Linked DNA regions of Homo sapiens: regions 1, 3 and 4 are each linked to region 2. The links are contacts of gene promoters, found by promoter capture Hi-C in blood cells and fetal thymus (Javierre and others, 2016). All regions are on one chromosome and are shown on one strand. The core of a region is centred on a gene start or on the middle of the fragment in contact, and the rest is flanking DNA. Distances in the headings are between cores, read along the strand shown. Region 1 has its middle 26 kb from the start of CCDC174. Region 2 holds the start of WNT7A (Wnt family member 7A). Region 3 overlaps GRIP2 (glutamate receptor interacting protein 2). Region 4 has its middle 27 kb from the start of GRIP2.

Evidence for each region. The method cuts DNA at HindIII sites, captures the fragments that hold promoters and counts their contacts. A CHiCAGO score of 5 or more calls a contact.
Region 1: a contact is called between a fragment that was not itself captured here and the fragment with the promoter of WNT7A in region 2, in 1 of 17 cell types (M0 macrophages). The highest score is 5.6, in M0 macrophages.
Region 3: a contact is called between a fragment that was not itself captured here and the fragment with the promoter of WNT7A in region 2, in 1 of 17 cell types (M0 macrophages). The highest score is 7.3, in M0 macrophages.
Region 4: a fragment that was not itself captured here is called in contact with the fragment with the promoter of WNT7A in region 2 in 1 of 17 cell types (M0 macrophages); the score reaches 5.7 in M0 macrophages.

The regions. Positions count from the first base shown.
Region 1 is chr3:14,623,817-14,626,969 of GRCh38, reverse strand. No RefSeq gene overlaps it. Among named protein-coding and RNA genes, the nearest start is that of CCDC174, 26 kb to the left of the region's middle. The HindIII fragment of the contact is 778 bases long and covers 1,490-2,267 here.
Region 2 is chr3:13,878,261-13,881,423 of GRCh38, reverse strand. WNT7A (Wnt family member 7A) reads left to right here and starts at 1,353. Exons shown (of 4, transcript NM_004625.4): 1 at 1,353-1,678. The coding sequence starts at 1,608. RefSeq lists enhancers at 1,375-1,876, 2,379-2,880. The HindIII fragment of the contact is 8,507 bases long and covers 1-3,163 here.
Region 3 is chr3:14,528,520-14,531,273 of GRCh38, reverse strand. The region is part of intron 1 of GRIP2 (glutamate receptor interacting protein 2); the gene reads left to right. It also overlaps the pseudogene RNU6-905P. Among named protein-coding and RNA genes, the nearest start is that of GRIP2, 10 kb to the left of the region's middle. The HindIII fragment of the contact is 545 bases long and covers 1,139-1,683 here.
Region 4 is chr3:14,565,295-14,568,450 of GRCh38, reverse strand. It overlaps a transcript of GRIP2 not described here. Among named protein-coding and RNA genes, the nearest start is that of GRIP2, 27 kb to the right of the region's middle. The HindIII fragment of the contact is 5,512 bases long and covers 1-3,156 here.

The DNA.
Region 1 (3,153 bases), core at 629-3,128, 750 kb before region 2:
TTGCACTCAGCTGCCAATCTTGCACCCCACGCCCACCCCCCTAAGGCAGCCCTGCAGTTACCTCACCACTCTCTTAGAAGTTACTAGGACTGGCAGGGCGTGGGGGCTCATGCTTGTAATCCCAGCACTTTGGGAGGCTGAGGCGGGCAGATCACGAGGTCAGGAGATCGAGACCATCCTGGCTAACACAGTGAAACCCTGTCTCTACTAAAAATACAAAAAATTAGCTGGGCATGGTGGCACGCACCTGTAATCCCAGCTACTCGGGAGACTGAGGCAGGAGAATTGCTTGAACCCGGGAGGCGGAGGTTCCAGTGAGCCGAGATTGTGCCACTGCACTCCAGCCTGGGTGACAGAGCAAGACTCCGTCTCAATAAATAAATAAATTAAATTAAATTAAATTTAAAAAAAGAAGTTGCTGGGGCTGGCCAGATGCGCTAGCTCACGCTTGTAATCCCAGCACTTTGGGAGGCTGAGGTGGGCAGATTGCAAGGTCAAGAGATAAGACTGGCCAGGCGCGGTGGCTCATGCCTATAATCCCAGCACTTTGGGAGGCCGAGGTGGGTGGATCACGAGGTCAGGAGATCGAGACCATCCTGGCTAACATGGTGAAACCCCGTCTCTACTAAAAATACAAAAAATTAGCTGGACATGGTGGTGGGTGCCTGTAGTACAAGCTACTCAGGAGGCTGAGGCAGGAGAATGGCATGAACCCAGGAGGCAGAGCTTGCAGTGAGCTGAGATCACGCCACTGCACTCCAGCCTGGGCGACGGAGCGAGACTCCGTCTCAAAAAAAAAAAAAAGAAAAAGAAAAAGAAAAAGAGATCAAGACCATCCTGGCCAACATGGTGAAACCCCGTCTCTACAAAAATAATAAAATTAGCTGGGTGTGGTGGCGGGCGCCTGTAGTCCCAGCTACTCGGGAGGCTGAGGCAGGAGAATCGCTTGAACCCAGGAGGTGGAGGTTGCAGTGAGCCGAGATCATGCCACTGCACTCCAACCTGGCGACAGAGCAAGACTCCGTCCCCCACAAAAAAAAAAGAAATAAAAAAGAAGGAGTTACTGGGGCCCACCCTTTGTGGAGCCCCCTGTGGAACAGCCTCCTCAAGGGTGTCACCCCTACCTCAGTAGCTTCTCAAAGCTATCCTTTCAAACCCACATGTTTCTCCCAGGGACGTTTTAGCAGCACTTAGACATTGGTGCCTTAGACATCTTCTGACTCTCTGTCCCCTTCATCCAGTTCAGGGGCCAACAGGAGACTCCTAAAAACCAGAACTCAGGGACTGGGACAAAAATGCTGAGTGGGTTGCGTGAAGCCACACAGCCTGGAGTTGACCTCAGCTCCCGCTGACACAATGTGTGGTCTGGGACTGGCCCTGCCACCACTGGGAAGATTATCAGAAATGCAGAATCCCCGGCCCCGGGACCTACTGAGTCAGAATCTGCATTTTAACAAATCTCCAAGTGACCCATATGCACATTGAAGCTTGAAAAGTAGTGCACTCTGTATGTTGCACGGAACTAGCCAAACAAAAAGAAGAAAAGTGGCAAAAACTAACTTTGGCTGGGTTGAAACAAGGAAATTAGAAAGAGTTATTGTTTCTCTTCTACACATTCCAAAATGTGATTATATTACTTTTGTGATGAAAAAAATAAACGCTTAAAATTTAAGAAAATCTGAGGCACAAAATTACACAATGTCATAAAACTAGTAAATTATGAAATGGTTATTTGCATTTAAAAGTAGGTCCCATTTACAGTCTGTAATTGCTTTTTGCTTTAATTGTTCTTTCTTGCTTTCTTATTTCTCCTCCCTTCCTCCCTCCCTCTCTTCCTCCCCCTGCCTTCTTCCTTTCTTTTAAAAGTACCCCAAAGCCAGAAGCAGAGGTGGTTTTGAAGGCAGGCTTAGGCCTCACCCCCTTGGGAATGGCTGGTGCAGGGAAGGGCACCTTCTGTCTGCAAAGGGAGCTTATTATAATATAGATCTTTTCAAAAGTGAATAGGGATGAAAATTTCCATGTTTATTGAAATGAAAAACAACAAATGATTTAAGGGTTAAGTGTGATTTGCAACTTGCCTTTTCTCCCAGGTGATATCCCTTCATTAATTCTTTTTCTGTCTACACAGGATGAAGGCCCCTTCCCTTTCCCAAATTTCTCAAGGTTTTTAAACCCCAAAACTGCTGACTTCAGACTTGGCCTCTTTGCCTAGTTTACTCTTACTTGTCCTTCAGCACTCAGCATGAATGTCACTTCTCAGGGAAGCTTTCCAAAACCCTTTAGTCCTGTATCAGGCAGAGCTCTTGATTGCAAGGGGTGGAAAAACAAACTTAAAGTGACTTAAGTCAAAAAGGGTGACTGTTGGTTCAGATAATGGAAAAGCCCAGCTAGTATCTGGCTTCAGGTATAGCTAGATCTAGGGTCTCAAATGACATTGCCAGAAGCTGCCTAGTGAAAAATCTCTCACCTTTCCTCTGTGAGGCTCCAGGCTTAAGCAAGCTCTCCCCTGGGGCTCCTATTTAAGCTCAAGATATTTGAGCTTCCAGCTTAGAAACCCCAATTGAGAGAGAACAACCCTCTTCCAGTTGTCCCTACAAAAGTCCCAGAGTCGAATCTCATTGGCCCGACTTAGGTCACATGCATATCTTTGACCAGTCATTGGAGTGGTCAGAGAATGGAGTGTTCCCATCAGGCAGGGTCATGTGCCCACCATAAACTCCTTCCCGCCTGAGTTACATGGGCTGATGGAAGGAAAAAGTACGTCCCTGAAGGAAAATTAAGAAGATGAGGTCACGAGGCTGAGTGGGCAATACAACAGCAGTTTACAACAGACCTCCTGTTACAAGGTTTCATAGCACCCTGTAATTTGCATTTGTAACATTTACTGGCTTTTAAAAACTATATAGTAATTTGAGTGGTTCCTTGATTAGTGTCTGTCTCCATTGAGATTGAAACCCTAAGAGCAGACGTTATGTGTGCTCACGGTTAACAGTATCCACAATGCCTGACACAAAGTAGGTGTTCATGAAATATTTATTGAATGAGTGGACTCACTCCAACTGCTTTAACAACAGCTCTGTTTACTCACATTTACTAGGGACGATCTGGAATGCTGGCAATCGGCCTCCCCATTTTAAATCAGATTTGGCCACT
Region 2 (3,163 bases), core at 104-2,603:
GTGCCCACTATCGTGGTTGGCACAGAATATGGAATATGAATGAATACCTGAATGGTGGCTTTCGGGTGTGTGTGTGTGTGTGTGTGTGTGTAATTTAGAAAGGCAATCTTGAAGGATAGTCAGGACTGGGTGCAGGAGGTTACTACAGTTGGGCATACTTTGTTTCCCATATGGTTGTGCCACTCGCTAGCTGGTGACTCTGGGCAAACACCTTCACCTCCTTGAGCCTCAGTGTCTTCAGCTGAAACCTGAGTTCAGATTTGCCAGACCTGGGCATAGGGACAGCAGGTCCAGCAGGAACACCAAGCCAGGACCACAGCCACTCCCAGGGAGCTCAGTCCCTGGAGCCCGAGAGGAACACTCTCCGGAGGCGCAGGCGCAGCCGCTCCTAGAGACTGGGCAACCCCCAGGTGGCAGGCGGGACCGGTCCGTGCAAACAGGGAACAGGTACCCGGAGGATGGACATTCGCTGGCAAAAACATAAACTGCCGCTCGGAGTCTTGGCACCACCCAATTTCCAGGGACGGTTAGACTCCCCCTAGCTCACTGGATGAGGTGTACACCAAAGAAGGGTGTTAGCCCCCTCGGGTCGGCCAGGGCACTCAAAGCATTCTGTTCCCGGGAGCGAGGCCGAGGTGCACCACCCGCCGCGTCCGCCTGGTGACGCCGCGAGCGCGCTCTGAGCGGCCAGCTGCGCCCCTCACGCTCCCGCGGCTCAGGCGCCCCACTGCTGTTCCGCGCGGGGCAACTGGGCCTCAGCCCGACTCAGTCTGTCGGCTAACAGCAGGATCCCAGAGGAGGCTGCCCAACCTGGGCACCCCCTGCCGCCACTCTCGAATAGGTGGGAGTAGGGAAGAAATACACTGAGCCAGTCAGCCCGTCGCTCCGCGAAAGGGGGCGCCCTCCCCTGAAGCTGGGGTTGGGGAACTGGGGTGTGCCCTGTCAGCCCCAGCTCCCTGTTCCGGGCTGGAGGGAGCAGGGCAGCAGACCAAGGCACTAGGCCTCTCGGCCGAGTCTGGTCCACTCCACCCGAGGGCAGCCTCTGGACGCCCACTCGCCCTGCAATCTGCAAGTTAGTGACGGGTGGGGGGCGAGCGGGCTCCTACCGCCTCCAACCGGGCTGTGCTCCCCAGCCTGCCACCTGCACCCCGGAGCAGGGAGGGGGCCCCCGGGAGCGCGCATGGAAAGGCGCGAGCGCGCGCCTTGTGCAGGCGGCCCTGTCCCGCGGGCGCAGGGGCGCTGGGCGGGCGCTCCGGGGAGGCGGGCGGGGGAGGGGGCGGGGGAGGGACGGGGGAAAGGAGGGAGGGGCGGGGGCTGGAGGCAGCAGCGCCCCCGCACTCCCCGCGTCTCGCACACTTGCACCGGTCGCTCGCGCGCAGCCCGGCGTCGCCCCACGCCGCGCTCGCTCCTCCCTCCCTCCTCCCGCTCCGTGGCTCCCGTGCTCCTGGCGAGGCTCAGGCGCGGAGCGCGCGGACGGGCGCACCGACAGACGGCCCCGGGGACGCCTCGGCTCGCGCCTCCCGGGCGGGCTATGTTGATTGCCCCGCCGGGGCCGGCCCGCGGGATCAGCACAGCCCGGCCCGCGGCCCCGGCGGCCAATCGGGACTATGAACCGGAAAGCGCGGCGCTGCCTGGGCCACCTCTTTCTCAGCCTGGGCATGGTCTACCTCCGGATCGGGTAAGGGCTGCCTGCGCCCTTTCCGCGCGTGTTTCGACAAAGTTGGCACGGCCCGGGGAGGGAGGTGTGCCGCCTGCGAGCCTCTGCCGGCCAACTTCCACAGCTTCTCTGAGAGGCCGGGTGGGTGCGGTGTGGGAGCGGTGGACGCACAAAGGCCCCCCGCAGGACACCCCAGGAGATATAGGCAGGGGGACTGGCCATCCTGAGGACGTCTGAGTCTGGAATCCCCCAGGACCAGAGACAGCCGGTAGGGACGCTCCAGCCTGAGGGACTCTGGGGGAGGGCTAGCTGCTGCAAAGGTTCAGCCCATCCCGGGGACCCTTCGGACCCGGGCATAGGGACAGCAGGTCTAGCAGGAACATCAAGCCAGGACCACAGCCAATCTCGGGGAGCTCAGTCCCCGGAGCCCGAGACGAACTCTCTCAGGAGGCGCGGCACAGCCGTTCCTAGAGACTGGGCAGTCCCCAGGTGGCTGGCGGGGCCGGTCCGTGCAAACAGGGAACAGGTACCCAGGAGGAAGGACATTCGCTGGCAAAAACATAAACCGCCGCTCGGAGCCTTGGCACCACCCAATTTCCAGGGGCCCTTAGACTCCCAGAGCCCCTTCCCGGGCCAAGGGGACAGCACGTCCCACCCCCAACAAACACACACAAAGGTGGGACGAGAGGCGGTCTGAGACACAGAGGGAGACAAGCGCTAGAGAGAGGCGGGACACCCCGCCCCCTGGAACTGGGCAGCAGAGGCGGCCGGGCGCGCGAGCAGCCCTCCGGCTTCACCTAGCGTTTCTGTGGAGGTGGGGCTCGGGGGCGCTCTGGCTGGAAGGTGGGAGGGGGCAGCTCGGGACGCGTCCTGGAGCTGCTTGTGCAAAGCCGGTCACCCTTTGTACTTAAGACAACGCGTGTGAGGCTCGGAGCGGTGTGGGGGCGGGGGGATCTGGGCATGGATAGAGGTTCTGGCGCTGAAGGGCCCGCTTGGTAGGTCTCACACACCCTGCCCCTCCAGCCCCCAGCAGTGAACCCATTACCATCCCTTTTGAGGAGGGGTGGACCGCAGGGGCTGCGGCGAGGGGATGTGCGTGGCAGACCCTTTGTGTTTTGTCACTACTACCCCCCTACCCCGTCACTTCCCCAGTCCACGTCTCTGGAGCGGGGATTTCGCAAGTTGTCCGGCCGCGGCCGCTAGCAGGTGCGTGCAGAGCCGACCAGGGGCCGCCAGCCCGACCAGCGGCGGAGAGGCGGCTGCGGGGCTCGCGCCAGTACCGCCAGCCTGCCGGTGTGTTTTAAGTGTTATTGATTCGCCCGCGTCTGGGTGGCTTTCCTTTTTTTCCCCTGCTTTAATCTTCATCTTGGCCCGCGCCCCGCCGCCCCGCGCACATTCAGCATCCAGGAAGCCAGTAGGGCCGATTGGCTCGAGCCGATTGACTCGGGCCGCGTGCGGCTTTATCTCCTTTTTAATTAGAAACGGGGAGGAGGGACACGGGTGGCG
Region 3 (2,754 bases), core at 162-2,661, 650 kb before region 2:
ATCAACTTTGTAAGGGAGGTCTGGCCAGTCCAATAAGGCAAATAAGAGAAATGAAAGGCATAAAGTTTAGAAAGTAAGAAATAAAACTGTCATTTTCACAGATGATATGATTATGTATATAGAAAATCCAAAAGAATGTATGGCTAAACTTAGAATTAATGAGTGAATTTAAAAGTTCAGAATACGTACTCGCTTAGGCAGCACAGATACTAAAATTGGAATGATACAGAGAAGATTAGCATGGCCTCTGTGCAAGAATGACACACAAATTTGTGAAGTCTTCCGTAGTTTTGCAAAAAAAAATAGAAAGAATGAATAAGACCTAGTATTTGATAGCACACTAGGGTGACTATAGTCAATAATGATGTAATTGTACATTTAAAAATAACTAAAAAGATTTAATTGGATTGTTTGTAACACAAAGGATAAATGCTTGAGGTGATGGATACCCCATTTACTTTGATGTGATTATTATGCAGTGCGTACCTGTATCAAAATATCTCATCTACCCCATAGATATATACACCTACTACATACCCACAAGAATTAAAAATAAATTTTTTAAGCTCAGAATATAAAACGAACTGTATATTTTTACACCAGGAACAAATAATTAGAAAATGAAATTTGAAAAACAATCCAATTTCTGTAGCTTTAACACACTTTAAATGCCTAGGAATACATTTAATGAGAGTGGTATAAGACTTTTTCTCATACAAGTACACAGTGTTCTTAGGAGAAATTAAAGATAAAAATGAATGGAGGAATATACTGTGATCATTGACTGGAAGATTCAATATTGTCTCCCAAAGAAAAAGACATCAATTCTCCACAAATGGGCCTATACATGCATTTCCACTCAAAAAATGGAGAGAAATGGAAAACAAGTAGGATGAGTGCAGGTGATGCTGGGGCTTCTCTACTGGGGTGGCAGCAGGAATGGGGGGATGTTTGTGCGTCTGGTAGCCGAAGGCTTGGGTTTTAATGGCTCAGAGACACAGGAAAAGCTACCTTGTACTTTCCCAAGTTGGTACTGAGACCCCGGCATAAAGCCAGGACCTTTGAAGAGATCTACCCTCAGTGAAAGAGGAGACTTGGAAAATATTCACCCGTCTATCAGGGAGCTAAAACAAAAGCTTATCTGTCTCAACTCAGCCTCCAGTGGTCTCCTTTGAGGATTTGTGATCTAAGGTGTGCCCCTTGTTTCTGGTGAACATTAGAATTTATAATACCTCCATGGTTCTGAAATCTTTGAGCCAAGATTGGTATTTACAATACCATGGAGGTATTATAAATTCTAATGAGTGTTGTAAATACCCATAATCATTGATATCAGGGTAATGATACTTTGGCAAGCACCCAGGGGAAGGAATGGAAAATTCTCTCTGGACCCTGGAGCCCTACAACCAGGCTGAATAGAATTCCCACAGTTGAAGCACTACTAAAGATGAGTTCACAATCCAACAATTACCAACCACACGAGGAAACAGTCTACTGTAAGGGAGAGTCATCAGACACTAGGCAGAAGAAATACCTCCCAAGAGTTTGAGATAATGGAAAAATAAAATAATAGGTGAATGTTCAAAATATTTAAAATTATTAGAAAGATAAGGAGCAACAGAAAAAGGAAGAGCAAAATATAAAAACAGAACAAAGATAAAAGCAAAATAATCAAACAAAGCTTTCAAGAGCCATAAATGTACTGTTGGAATTAAAATTTGGAATGGGTATTAGACTAATAATTATGGTATTACTTTGTAAGGTGGGATATAATACTTTTATTGTATAAGAAATATGTTCTTATTTAGAAATGCATATTGAAATATTTAAAGGTGAAATTGCATTATGCCCAGGATTTGTTTTAAAATATTTCAGCATAGATAAAAATAAATGGGCTAAATACTGCAAAGTGTTAATGATTGTTAAAACTACCTGTGAGGTAATACCAATTCATTATACAAGTGTTTTTCCTTTTTTTTTTTTTTTTTTTTTTTTGAGACGGAGTCTCACTCTGTCGCCCAGGCTGGAATGCAGTGGCACGGTCTCGGCTCACTGCCACCTCCGCCTCCCAGGTTCACGCCATTCACCTGCCTCAGCCTCCCAGGTAGCTGGGACTACAGGCGCCTGCCACCACGCCCAGCTAATTTTTTTTTTTTTTTGTATTTTTAGTAGAGATAGGGTTTCACTGTGTTAGCCAGGATGGTTTTGATCTCCTGACCTCATGATCCGCCCCCTTTGGCCTCCCAAAGTGCTGGGATTACAGGCGTGAGCCACCACGCCCAGCCACAAATGTTTTTCAAACTTTAGTGCGACACAGAGTCACCTAGAAGGCTTTTCAAAGCACACATTATTACATCTGACAATGGATTTGTATCCGGAATATATGAAAACTCAATAACAAGGAAACAAACAACCCAACTTAAAAATGGGCAAAAGCTTTGGCACTTCCCCAAAGAAGATATAGATGAATGGCAAGTTAAAAAAAGTGCCCAACCTCATTAGTCATTAGACAAATGCAAATTAAAATCACAGTAAGATACCTCTGCACATGTATTAGCATGACTAATTTTTTTTTTTAATTAGGGAGACAGGGTTTTGCTGTGTTGCCCAGGCTGGTCTTGAATTCCTGGGCTCAAGCAATCCTTCTACCCTGGCCTCCCAAAGTGTTGGGGTCACAGGTATAAGCCAGTGTGCCCAGCTTAAATTTTTTCGTTTAAACCCTAACTGATATTACCAAGTGCTGATGAGGATGCA
Region 4 (3,156 bases), core at 641-3,140, 690 kb before region 2:
TCTCTGAGCCTCAGGTTCCTCCTCTGTAAAGTGAACATACTTCTCCTGGCCTCACAGGGCTGTGTGTGTCTATAATGAGTCACTACTTTTCTTTAAAACATGTCCACGACTGGCTGCCTCTTACGGACCTGGTCCACGTCCCGGTGTCTATTAGTTGCATGGTTGCAGTGGCCTCTTCACTGGTCTTCCCACCTCCACCCTCACTCCCTCCTCAGTCTGTCCCTCCCCTGCAGCCACAGGGATACTGTTAAAACCTAGGTCAGATCACTCCCTCCTCTCTTCAACACCCTCCCATGGCTCCCACCTCCCTCTGAGGAAGACCAAAGTCCTCACTGCAGCCAACCTGGCCCTTGGTGGTCTGCCCCTGGGACCCCACTGACATCCTTTCTGCTACTCCGTCCATCACTCAGCTTCAGCCCTGGCCTCCTTGCTGGGCCTCAAACCAGGGCCTTTGCATGGGCCGTGTTCTTTGCCTGGCTCAGCAATCTGCATGGTTGGGCATGGTTGGGTCCCCTATTCCCTTCATTTGTGTGAAGACTTGATCACAGAGACCTCCCCCTACCTCATAACCATCTCACACCACTTCATTTTTCTTCAAAGCACTTATTTCAACCTGTGGTGTGTTACATATTTATCATGTCTTTGTTTGTCTCTCTGCGTAGAACGTAAGTGCTGGAAGCCTTATTCACTGCTGGAGCATAAGAGCTGCCCAGCACATGAGCAAGTGAATGAATGACGGGCACTATTGAATGCTTTGGGCCTGGGAATAAATGCTACTGGATTATACCGCTGTCATCATCATTACAGGTTCTCTCAATGCTCCCACTGCCAGGGCCTCATGAAAATCCTTGTTTGAGGACTAGAAGAGTCCCCAGTGTGTGTTGTGACCTTGTTATCACCCCTGGTTTTCCTTGTCCCTGGAGTGGTGGCATCATCCTGAACCTCGTGCTGTCTCTCCTGACTCCTGGGATGCCATGTTTCCTGGGATGCCATGTCTCCTGGGATGCCATGACTCCTGGGATGCCATGTGACACTGCAGCCCAGAGGCATGCAGGGTCCCCAGGGAGGGCATGAGGGATGGTTGGCCTCACTGAGCGGGATCCCATGCTGCAGAGGCAGGGGGCTTAGAATGACTTGTAGCCAAGATTCGTCTTAGGGGCCTGCTCCCTTCTTGTAGGTATTTTTTCCAGTGCTCAGGAACAGATTGGAAGGGTGTTTGGAACCAAGAGTCCTGGGTATGAGTCCTAGCCTTGCCCTCACTGCTGAGTGAGTTGCATAAGAATCTGCCCCAAACTGAAAGGGAAATCGAGGGGAATCATTGAATGCTCCAGCTGGCCTCAAGCAGCAGGACTGAGGGCAAAGGGCAAAAAGATGCCTCAAGGCTGGGCAGTTGACGTTCATTCATTCATTCATTCATTCATTCATTCAAGTGAGTCCTTTGGGAGCCACAGAAGATTGTAGAGAGGGAGAGAAGTGATGTGATCATTTCACAGATTATTGGAGGTGAGGTTGACCCTACCTTTGATTATTGGACCCCACCTCCAATAATCAGAAAGGACCTCAGAGAGGGCCAACTTCTTAATTTTACAGTGGGGAAACTGAGGCCCAGAGTAGGCAGAGAATCATCCCAGGTCACACAGTGGCCATGTGACTGCATCTCTCACTGGAAGCCATGGAAAGGGGAGTTTTCCAGGGTTAAGGGCAAGATTGGAGCTCTCTGGAGCTAAGGGCAAGATTGGAGGGGTCAGGGGCTGTGAAAAGGAGCTTTTAGGAGGTCACGGCTTGCTTGGTGAGCAACACGGATGGCTTACACTGTCCCTTTGAACACTGAATGGTCTGAGGTCCAATGATGTTGATCGCCTTGCTCTGTCCCCACCCTGACTCTGATAACCTGTGGTTTGGCTCCACTCGCTGCTGTGGCTTCTGTCTGTAGTTCTGGCATTCTCTGCTGCGGTTCTAATGGCCTGTGGCCAGACCACAGCGTGGTGGGTATGGATCCATGAGCGTAATGCCTGCAGTTCTTGAGCTACCATCTGGGGCTTCCTGAAGCTAACATTCTGTGGCTCCAGGGTTTCAATTTTGTGTGCCCTTGTGGGCTGTCGCCCAGTCCTGTGGTGTGTGACTCTGTGTTCCCATCCCTGGGAGCTCTGTGGCCTTGTGGGCTATCATCCAGTCCCCTGTGGTCATGTGGCTCTGTGATCTTGTCTAAGAGCCCTGTGGCTCTCATGGTCTGTCACCTAGTTTCCTGCTGGACTCCGATTCCCACACTACGGTGGCTCGTTTGAATGGCCAGAGTCACAGGACTTTGTCCAGATCATTGACCCTGCTGACCTGGAGAAAGATCACACAGTTATTGGCCATGCTGCAGCAAGGCTGGGCTGTCTGAGAGCCTCAGGGCACCTCTGGGATGCGCTCCTCCCTTTCTTCATCTGAGGCTAGAAGCCTCTGTGCTGTGACCCACAGGAAGCAGCACCCAGAGATGGCCCTGCCACTAGCAAGCTATGAGTGAACTGTGTCACCTAGGGCACGCTCCTTTCTCTGTGCTTGAGCTTGGCAGTTGTGGGGGTGAGATGCATGGCAGGATGGGGGCTGTGCTGGTGACGAGGTGGCCGGGACAAGCTCCAGCGCCCCTCTGTGTGGGCTTCCAGTTTTCTATGGGCCAGGTGGGAGGTACAGACCTGCAGACTGCCCGCGTGAAGGGCGATGCTGGGACATAGCTCCCTGCAAGGGTCTGTCACACCCACTTTCCCGTTCCCAAGGCAGTGCTGTGCTGCTGGCCACTTACACTGAGGATGCCAAGGCCCGGAGTGGGTAAATTTTACACAGCCCCTTCTCATCCTGTGGCACAACCCTGCTCTCCCACCTCTCCGGGCCTTCGGGACTTGGGGTGTGGGATTTGTTGGGGAGGTAGGGAGAGAGGAGGCAGGGTCCTGCCCAGCTGTGCGGGTTGGTTCTTGTTGCCATGTGGAGGCTGGAGGCCTTTTCCTGTGTTTGTGAGGGCCTGAGAAGCCCTATTAGCGTGGGGGTCCAGCTCCACTCCAGCCACTGGCCCAACAGGCACATCTGCTAAGTGGGAACAGCAGCCCCGTCTGGGAGCCCAGCACTTGAGTTCAAGCCCTGACTCTGCTTTCAATGGACTCTGTGACCTTGAGCTTG